2 separate regions of the Homo sapiens genome follow, and region 2 is linked to region 1. The links are contacts of gene promoters, found by promoter capture Hi-C in human tissues and cell types (Jung and others, 2019). All regions are on one chromosome and are shown on one strand. The core of a region is centred on a gene start or on the middle of the fragment in contact, and the rest is flanking DNA. Distances in the headings are between cores, read along the strand shown. Region 1 holds the start of PDX1 (pancreatic and duodenal homeobox 1). Region 2 overlaps PLUT (PDX1 associated lncRNA, upregulator of transcription).

Region 1 (4,022 bases), core at 391-2,890:
AAACTCTCCCCGCCCGCCGCCGTGCTTCCCTTGGCCTGTCTTCGGTGACAGCAAGGGCATCTACAAGCCAGGGAGCCACACATCAGAGCCACACACATGAGGCCACAGGCCAGGAAGCCACACACATGAGTTCTCACACATCGAAGCAAATGCTGAGACTATACCGGCCTCCCGCAAGAGAAGGAATCTGCAGAGAAGTCCACATTCCCGACTGGCTTTTTTGTCTTTTAATAAAAATAAAGAGTCCTCAGAATAGAGCACTCAATCCGCACTTAAAACACAAATATTTCCAGTAGGAAGAAAGAAATACATTAAGATTGACTCTCAAAGGTCTGGATGTTGGTGCGTTGTTTAGGAAAGGCGGAGCAGTGATTTTTCTCTGGCTTGGTTCTTTGTGGTTCAAGCTCTCTCTTGCTGAGACGTTTCTGCAAAGCTGTCTAGTTTTTCTAAAACCCACGGTGGCGTTTCGAGAAACGTCCTCATTTCGGGAGTATCCAGTCAGAGGCTGGTCAGGCCGCCAGGCCTAGCGGATCATGCCCAGGCAGGGGGTTGGACGTCACCGCCACCCGGAGGTCATCCATCCGCGTCAGTGGGTGCAGAAAAAGTGGCCCTGTTTAAGTCAGGACCCCAGAATGCCCAGAAGTTACTGAATGGTTTGAAGCCAAGCACAGATGTTATCATGGAAAATGCAGCGTTTTTATTTCTTTTTCTAAATATGTAACTCTTCCTCCACTTCCCCCTCTCCTGCTTGCCTTATTTCAATTGCAAGCAGAAGAGAGTGAGTGTTCTCTGCCGGCAAACTCCGCCAGGGTCCCGGCCCGTAGAGAGTCGTCAAGGGTCTGGAACCCCCGTGCCAACACCTGCCCCTGCTTCGCAGCCCCAAGAGGAAGGCCGCGTCTTTCCCCCTCGCTGTATTGGGAAGCTACGTTCCGGGCTGGCCAAATGGGCCCCAATTTTCCAAAACCCAAATTTGTAATACCCTTCAATTTTTTAAAAAAAAGAATTTAAAAAAGTCTCTGTGAATGCTTCAGAAGTTACCGTTTACACCCCAGAAGTACTTGCAGCACATCCACAAGTAAAAACACACAACGAATGCCAGAGTTTCGTGTGTTTTTTAACCGACATCTTTGTGGCTGTGAACAAACTTCATAAATAAAATAGAATCAAATGCTTCTGACCTAGAGAGCTGGGTCTGCAAACTTTTTTTTTATCGTATTCCGCAACAGTTAAATAAAAAATTAAAAACTCAACATGTCTCCTTGTAAACTACATCAATTAACAAACACACTATGTCCATTATCAAATATAATAGAAAAAATATAGGAAAATAGAAAATAGAAAAATATAGGAAAATAGAAACTTTTAAGCCACGGTGAAAATGTTTCTATAAATGAGTGGTTCTAATGTTTTCGTGAGCGCCCATTTTGGGGAGCACCGCCAGCTGCCCGTTCAGGAGTGTGCAGCAAACTCAGCTGAGAGAGAAAATTGGAACAAAAGCAGGTGCTCGCGGGTACCTGGGCCTAGCCTCTTAGTGCGGCCAGCCAGGCCAATCACGGCCCCCGGCTGAACCACGTGGGGCCCCGCGGAGCCTATGGTGCGGCGGCCGGCCCGCCGGTCCGCGCTGGCTGTGGGTTCCCTCTGAGATCAGTGCGGAGCTGTCAAAGCGAGCAGGGGTGGCGCCGGGAGTGGGAACGCCACACAGTGCCAAATCCCCGGCTCCAGCTCCCGACTCCCGGCTCCCGGCTCCCGGCTCCCGGTGCCCAATCCCGGGCCGCAGCCATGAACGGCGAGGAGCAGTACTACGCGGCCACGCAGCTTTACAAGGACCCATGCGCGTTCCAGCGAGGCCCGGCGCCGGAGTTCAGCGCCAGCCCCCCTGCGTGCCTGTACATGGGCCGCCAGCCCCCGCCGCCGCCGCCGCACCCGTTCCCTGGCGCCCTGGGCGCGCTGGAGCAGGGCAGCCCCCCGGACATCTCCCCGTACGAGGTGCCCCCCCTCGCCGACGACCCCGCGGTGGCGCACCTTCACCACCACCTCCCGGCTCAGCTCGCGCTCCCCCACCCGCCCGCCGGGCCCTTCCCGGAGGGAGCCGAGCCGGGCGTCCTGGAGGAGCCCAACCGCGTCCAGCTGCCTTTCCCATGGATGAAGTCTACCAAAGCTCACGCGTGGAAAGGCCAGTGGGCAGGTAAGCCTGGCTCCCCACCCCTTTCTCCTTTCCGGTTCTCACCCGGCCGCCTTACCTCCAAGCGCTCCCAGGAGCCTTCTCTCTGTTCCCGGCGCCTTGGATTATCCCGGGTCGGACTAAACTACATCAGGGAGCTACCGAGCCCATCCCTCACAGCAGTGCTTCTCTAGTCCAGTTTGAAGCATCTTTCCCACCCAGCTCTCCTGGGAGTGTACACTCCTTCCTTCCCTGTTCGCTGAGCCCATCTTCGCCCCAGGAGCCCGCGCTCCCAGCGCCATCCTTAGAGAGCCGAGGCTGAGTCCTGCTCAGGGCTTCGGACACTACAGATCCTCCTCCAGCAGGGGATCCGGGAACCCAGGACTCCTTGGTAGTGCACATCGAGGAAGCCGAGTAGGGACATGGGTGCCTCGGACCCAGGCCCCAGATCGCCTTCGGAGCCCCGGAGCCCCTCACTTCCCGCGCTTCGTTAAGGAAGGGCAGGCATCTAGGGGCGCCAGGTAGGTGCAGAAAGGCAGGGAGGGAAAGGAAACTGCACCCAACCCAGCAGTGTCCGGCTGCCCTGGTTGTGGAAACAGGATAGGAGTAAAGAGGAAGGGGCTGGGGCAAGGCGGGGGCTCACCGCGAGGCTGAAAGCCGGCCTCTCAACGTCAGAGCCTGGCAGCTAGGAGAGCAATCTGAGAAGCGAATTCGTTTTTCACCAACCGAAAGCAATTGAAGCTGTCTCCCCGCACCGCTTCCCAGGAAGTAATTTTTCAGGAGATGGGCGCTCCCTGCCTAGCTGGTGGGGAGGCGAGAGGCCTGGTTCCTGCGGCCCTCCGCGCCGGCAGAGAACAGAAGGTCTTTCCCGGAGCCGGGAGCCGGAGGCACGGGGTAGCCCCCGGGTCCTTTGCGGCCCCGCGCGAGCGGCAAGTTCCGGCGCGGCCTGTGTCGTCGCCGCTACTCACTGTCATCGCTGCCGTGCCTCAGCCACTTCTGGTCACACCTGCACCGCAAATAGTTGCCTTTTCCTTTCAACTGGCAGCCGGGAGTAGGGGGAAGCAGCTCGAGCCGGCGTCCCCCGGCCCACCCCGAAAATCCTCAGCGCCCATCTGCGGGGTCTGGCCAGCCCTGCCTGACACTGACCCCAGGCGCAGCCAGGAGGGGCTTTGTGCGGGAGAGGGAGGGGGACCCCAGCTTGCCTGGGGTCCACGGGACTCTCTTCTTCCTAGTTCACTTTCTTGCTAAGGCGAAGGTCCTGAGGCAGGACGAGGGCTGAACTGCGCTGCAATCGTCCCCACCTCCAGCGAAACCCAGTTGACAGGGGCGCCAGAAGCTGCCGCGGCGCCTCTGCAAATTTATCCAGCTCGCGCAGCCCGGGCCAAAGGCCTTGAAGTCTCCGGAAATGCGGGGTTCTTAGGAGGCGGGAGGACAGTCCCTCGAACAAAGGTGGGGGGCTCCTCGTCCTCACCCAGTTTTCTTCCAGGGCTGCCTCCCCTCCAGACCTCTCTTCTGGCCTCCTAGGCCCTCGGAGCTCCTGCTTTCCCACCCTGGGCCTTCCTCAGGAAATGGGCGACATCAGGGTCCCGAAAGAGGATTTGTGAGGTGGAGTAACTTCCCTATCCCAACCCAAGGGGTGATACCTCTGCTCTGGAGGACTTGGGCTTAGGCTGACCCAAGAAGCCAGAAAGTAAAACCAGAAGGCAAATCAGCAGCCTTGGCGAGGGTTCGGGGACCCAAGGAGGGCGACACTCTCGGGCTGGAGTTGGCCCCAGGCCTTTGCTGGCGCCCTCTAACCCGCTGCATGCTCGACTCTCGGGGAAGGAGACGACCTCCCCTCTCTTCCCCTGGAAGCCGTCTG
Region 2 (4,022 bases), core at 123-2,622, 46 kb before region 1:
CCTGACCTCGTGATCCGCCCGCCTTGGCCTCCCAAAGTGCTGGGATTACAGGCGTGAGCCACTGCGCCCGGCCCCTAGATTTTTTAAATAGTCGTATGTGGGATAATTTTTAAAATTATATTCCTAACCATTTATTGTTGGTAATGGTATTTTGGGCATAAGTTTCTGTATTTGTTAAATTGTCTTTTTAGGAAAGACCCCAAGAAATGGAATAACTTAGTTTAAGACTATGGATGCATTGAATAACTTTTGCCAAGTTGTTTTAAAATTTAAATCACAATTAAAATAAGTGAGAGTGCCCATTTCATACCTTGCACTATCCAGTGTTACTTTTGTAGATCAATAATTAATTGGTTTGAGGGAAATAGTATGTTTTTGTTTTTATTTACTTTTTTTACTACCTGTGAAGATGAACATTTGTCCATAAGTTTCAGCTATTTTTCAGTCATCTGCATAAAAGACATGTCCCTGACACAAACTGTATTTGCAGAACTGAAATACCACTGACTGAGCCAACAGAGGTGATCTAGTTGAGTGATTGTCTGCAAGGTGAAGGCATGTTTGGTGATTGAAGTAATTGGTGAGGGGGCTACTACTGGCATTTGGTGGGGGAGTGCCAGGGATGCCAGATGTCTTATAAATCATAAGACAGTCTTGCATTATGATGAATGTCATACTGAACATTTATGTGAGTGGAAAATATTCACAGTTTTCTCTGTTTAGAACCTAATTCTTTCCTCCAGACATGTACACATTTTTGCATCAATTTGATATACACTGAGATTTCTAGGCATGCAACTATAGTGTAAATTAAGGCAAAAATTGCACTTTGATTTGTTTGGATATTAACAAGAATTGTTCAACAGTTTGGAAAACAATGTCACCGATGGTGACATATTTACGCCATTGACATTGCCAATACAACACATCATTACCCATCTGTTTTTGTAGCTGTCCCATTCATAATAATTCTAAGAACAAGTGCAAGAATCTGGCTTAAAAAATGGAATCTTCTAGTGTAGGCATGCTCAAGCATTTACAGAATGTTTATAAAAACATTTATAAAATTACATGTCAGTTCATAACAAATTAGTTTCTCTTTATCCTCCCTCTTAAATTTAGTGCAATATATTTTGATGGTATTATTATTGAGATACAGGTAGATAATATTGTCTGTAAATATAATTTCACAATAGTAAAGCGGGCCTTGCAAAACATTGATATAAAAAGTGGGTCTGGACATATTAAAATAATTAATACCGTATGACCAAATTTATTCCATGAAACAGAAAATGGGTCAATATTAGAAAATATTTTAATCAGCTGGGTGTGGTGGCTCATGCCTGTAATCCCAGCACTTTGGGAGGCTGAGGCGGGTGGATTTCTTGAGGTCAGGAGTTCGAGACCAGCCTGACCAATATGGTGAAACCCCGTCTCTACTAAAAATACAAAAATTAGGTGGGTGTGGTGGCGTGCACCTGTAGTCCCAGCTACTCGGGAGGCTGAGACAGGAGAATTGCTTGAACCCGGGAGGTGGAGGTTGCAGTGAGCCAAGATCATGCCACTGCACTCCAGCCTGGGTGACAGAGCAAGACTCTATCTCAAATTTTAAAAAAAAAAAAGAAAGAAAGAAAATATTTTAATCTAATTCATAATATTTACTAATAGATCTAGGAAGATAGAGCATTTGATTATCTCAATAAATGCTGAAAAAACTTTGATACAATTCAACACCCATTCATAAAACTTCTTGAGAAAACAGAAAAGGAATAATGTTTCCTTAACCTGCTACATTAACCATTCCTTTCTATTTGCTTTCTTTTCTTTTTTTTATTTTTATTTTCTTTTTTATTTTATTATTATTATACTTTAAGTTTTAGGGTACATGTGCACAACGTGCAGGTTTGTTACATATGTATACATGTGCCATGTATACATAATGCACCCATTAACTCGTCATTTAGCATTAGGTATATCTCCTAATGCTATCCCTCCCCGCTCCCCACACCCCACAACAGTCCCCAGTGTGTGATGTTCCCCTTCCTGTGTCCATGTGTTCTCATTGTTCAATTCCCACCTATGAGTGAGAACATGCGGTGTTTGGTTTTTTGTCCTTGCGATAGTTTGCTGAGAATGATGGTTTCCAGCTTCATCCATGTCCCTACAAAGGACATGAACTCATCATTTTTATTTGCTTTATTTTCATGCTTTGACATCTGGAGCTTTGCTGACCCTGGAGGCACTACCCATTCCACGGTGAGCTAATTCTTAGACATAGCTAACAATTCACCTGCAAGACCTCCTCCTTTATCAGGCTTTCACATTCTGGGCCACCATCCACCTGCCCTAATCACCCCAGGGCCAAGTACCAGACAATTAGGGGCAGCCCTTATGCCTCAGGGTACAATTATTCAAACCAGCCAATCCTGAGCCTCAGCCTGTTTGCCCTGCCTTGTCCATTCCTTCTCATAGAAACCACAATAAAGGTTCCAGCCCACAGTTCCTCCTCCCCTGCTGCCTCCTGTCTGGGCTTGGTGTTTTCCCGTGTGGTATAGTGTACCCCATCCTTTTGCAATCTATGGATATAATTTTTTTCTTTTCTTTTCTTATTATTTATTTATTTATTTTAAAAGACAGGGTCTCCCAGGCTGGAATGGAGTGGTGAACTCAATCGATCCTCCCCCCTCAGCTTCCTGAGTAGCTAGGACCACAGGCACACCTAGCTAATTTTTTTTTTTTTAAAGCACCATAGTCTAACTATTTTGCCCAAACTGGTCTTGACTTCCTCACCTCAAGTAATCCTCCCACCTCTGCCTCCCAAATCTCTGGGATTACAGGTGTGAGCCACTGTGTCTGGTCCACACTGTCTTTTTAATGGCAGTCTTCTCCTGATCTATTGACCTTGCCATAGTAAAAAACAATTAAAACCACATTTGAAAACGCGTGTCAAAATACACAAAATTCAATCCTAAAGTCAACATCTTATTTAATAGGGAAACCCAAGAGCTATTCCTATTAATGTCAGAAGCAAAGCAAAATGTTCACTGTCTCCACAACGGTTTAACATTGTTCTGTAGGTACTACTCAATACAATTAGAGTAGAGAAAACAATTAAACATAAAAGGGAAAAAAATAAAATTAAAACTCTCTCTATTTGCTGATGACATAATAGCAAACCTGGAAAACCCTAGAAAATCAATAATAAAACAATCCAAACATTAAAAGAATTTCATAAGATAGCAGGATATAAAATTAACATGCAAAAATCAATGGCACTGACACCCAGCTTCCAGTCTGACATGTAAAGAGCTTAGAACTCATCACTCCCAATCTCAAAACAAGAAAAAGAAAAGAAAAGAAAAGAAAGTTGCTGAGTAAACGGAAAACCAACAACTCTTCTTAAATTCTTCAGACAGTTGAGGTCCCAGGACAAACTGCTACCCTGAAAACTAGAGAGGCAGACAGGAAGACACAGAAAACCATACCTTACAGGGAGCAGAAGCTGCAGCTGGAGCTGGTAGCAACACTTACGGGGTAAAGGACTAATTGCTGGAGACTGAGCAAGAACTAGCTTGAGAGATAAAACTCCTGAAAGCCCAGGTTCAGGGGTGCCCCCATACTGTCCTGTGTTGTGCCTTCAGGGGTCCCACAAGGTTTTCAGCGGGAAAGGGGAAAAGAACCATTTTGAAATAAGCCTAGAGCACTCTGTTCTCCTTAACAATGGTCTGCCTCAAGAGAAAATGTTTTACCAGAGTCTAACCTACTTGGGTTTTATCAGAGCCTAACACACCTGGAGAAAGAGAAATGCCAAGCTCCAGCCCCCTGTAGCTTTCTTGTCTTGCCTAAGCAGGGGCACTGAGAAGCCCTTGTGAAGGTCACAGCACAGGAACACAGGCCGCTAAGAGACCAAGACCTGATCACAGGACTGTATATAATGGCTTTACTCTCCCAACACCTTACAACTACATCAGTAGGACTTCTGTGTAATAGCAGGAGATTACAGCTGAAAGAACTGCAAACTT

Evidence for each region. The method cuts DNA at HindIII sites, captures the fragments that hold promoters and counts their contacts. A contact is called where the count stands out against the background at its distance.
Region 2: a fragment that was not itself captured here is called in contact with the fragment with the promoter of PDX1 in region 1 in 3 of the 25 tissues and cell types used here (liver, pancreas and stomach).

What each region holds. Positions count from the first base shown.
Region 1 is chr13:27,918,360-27,922,381 of GRCh38, forward strand. It overlaps PDX1 (pancreatic and duodenal homeobox 1), which reads left to right and starts at 1,641. Exons shown (of 2, transcript NM_000209.4): 1 at 1,641-2,185. The coding sequence starts at 1,780. The HindIII fragment of the contact is 14,480 bases long and covers 1-4,022 here.
Region 2 is chr13:27,872,751-27,876,772 of GRCh38, forward strand. All of the region lies in intron 1 of PLUT (PDX1 associated lncRNA, upregulator of transcription), which reads right to left. Among named protein-coding and RNA genes, the nearest start is that of PLUT, 43 kb to the right of the region's middle. The HindIII fragment of the contact is 7,641 bases long and covers 1-4,022 here.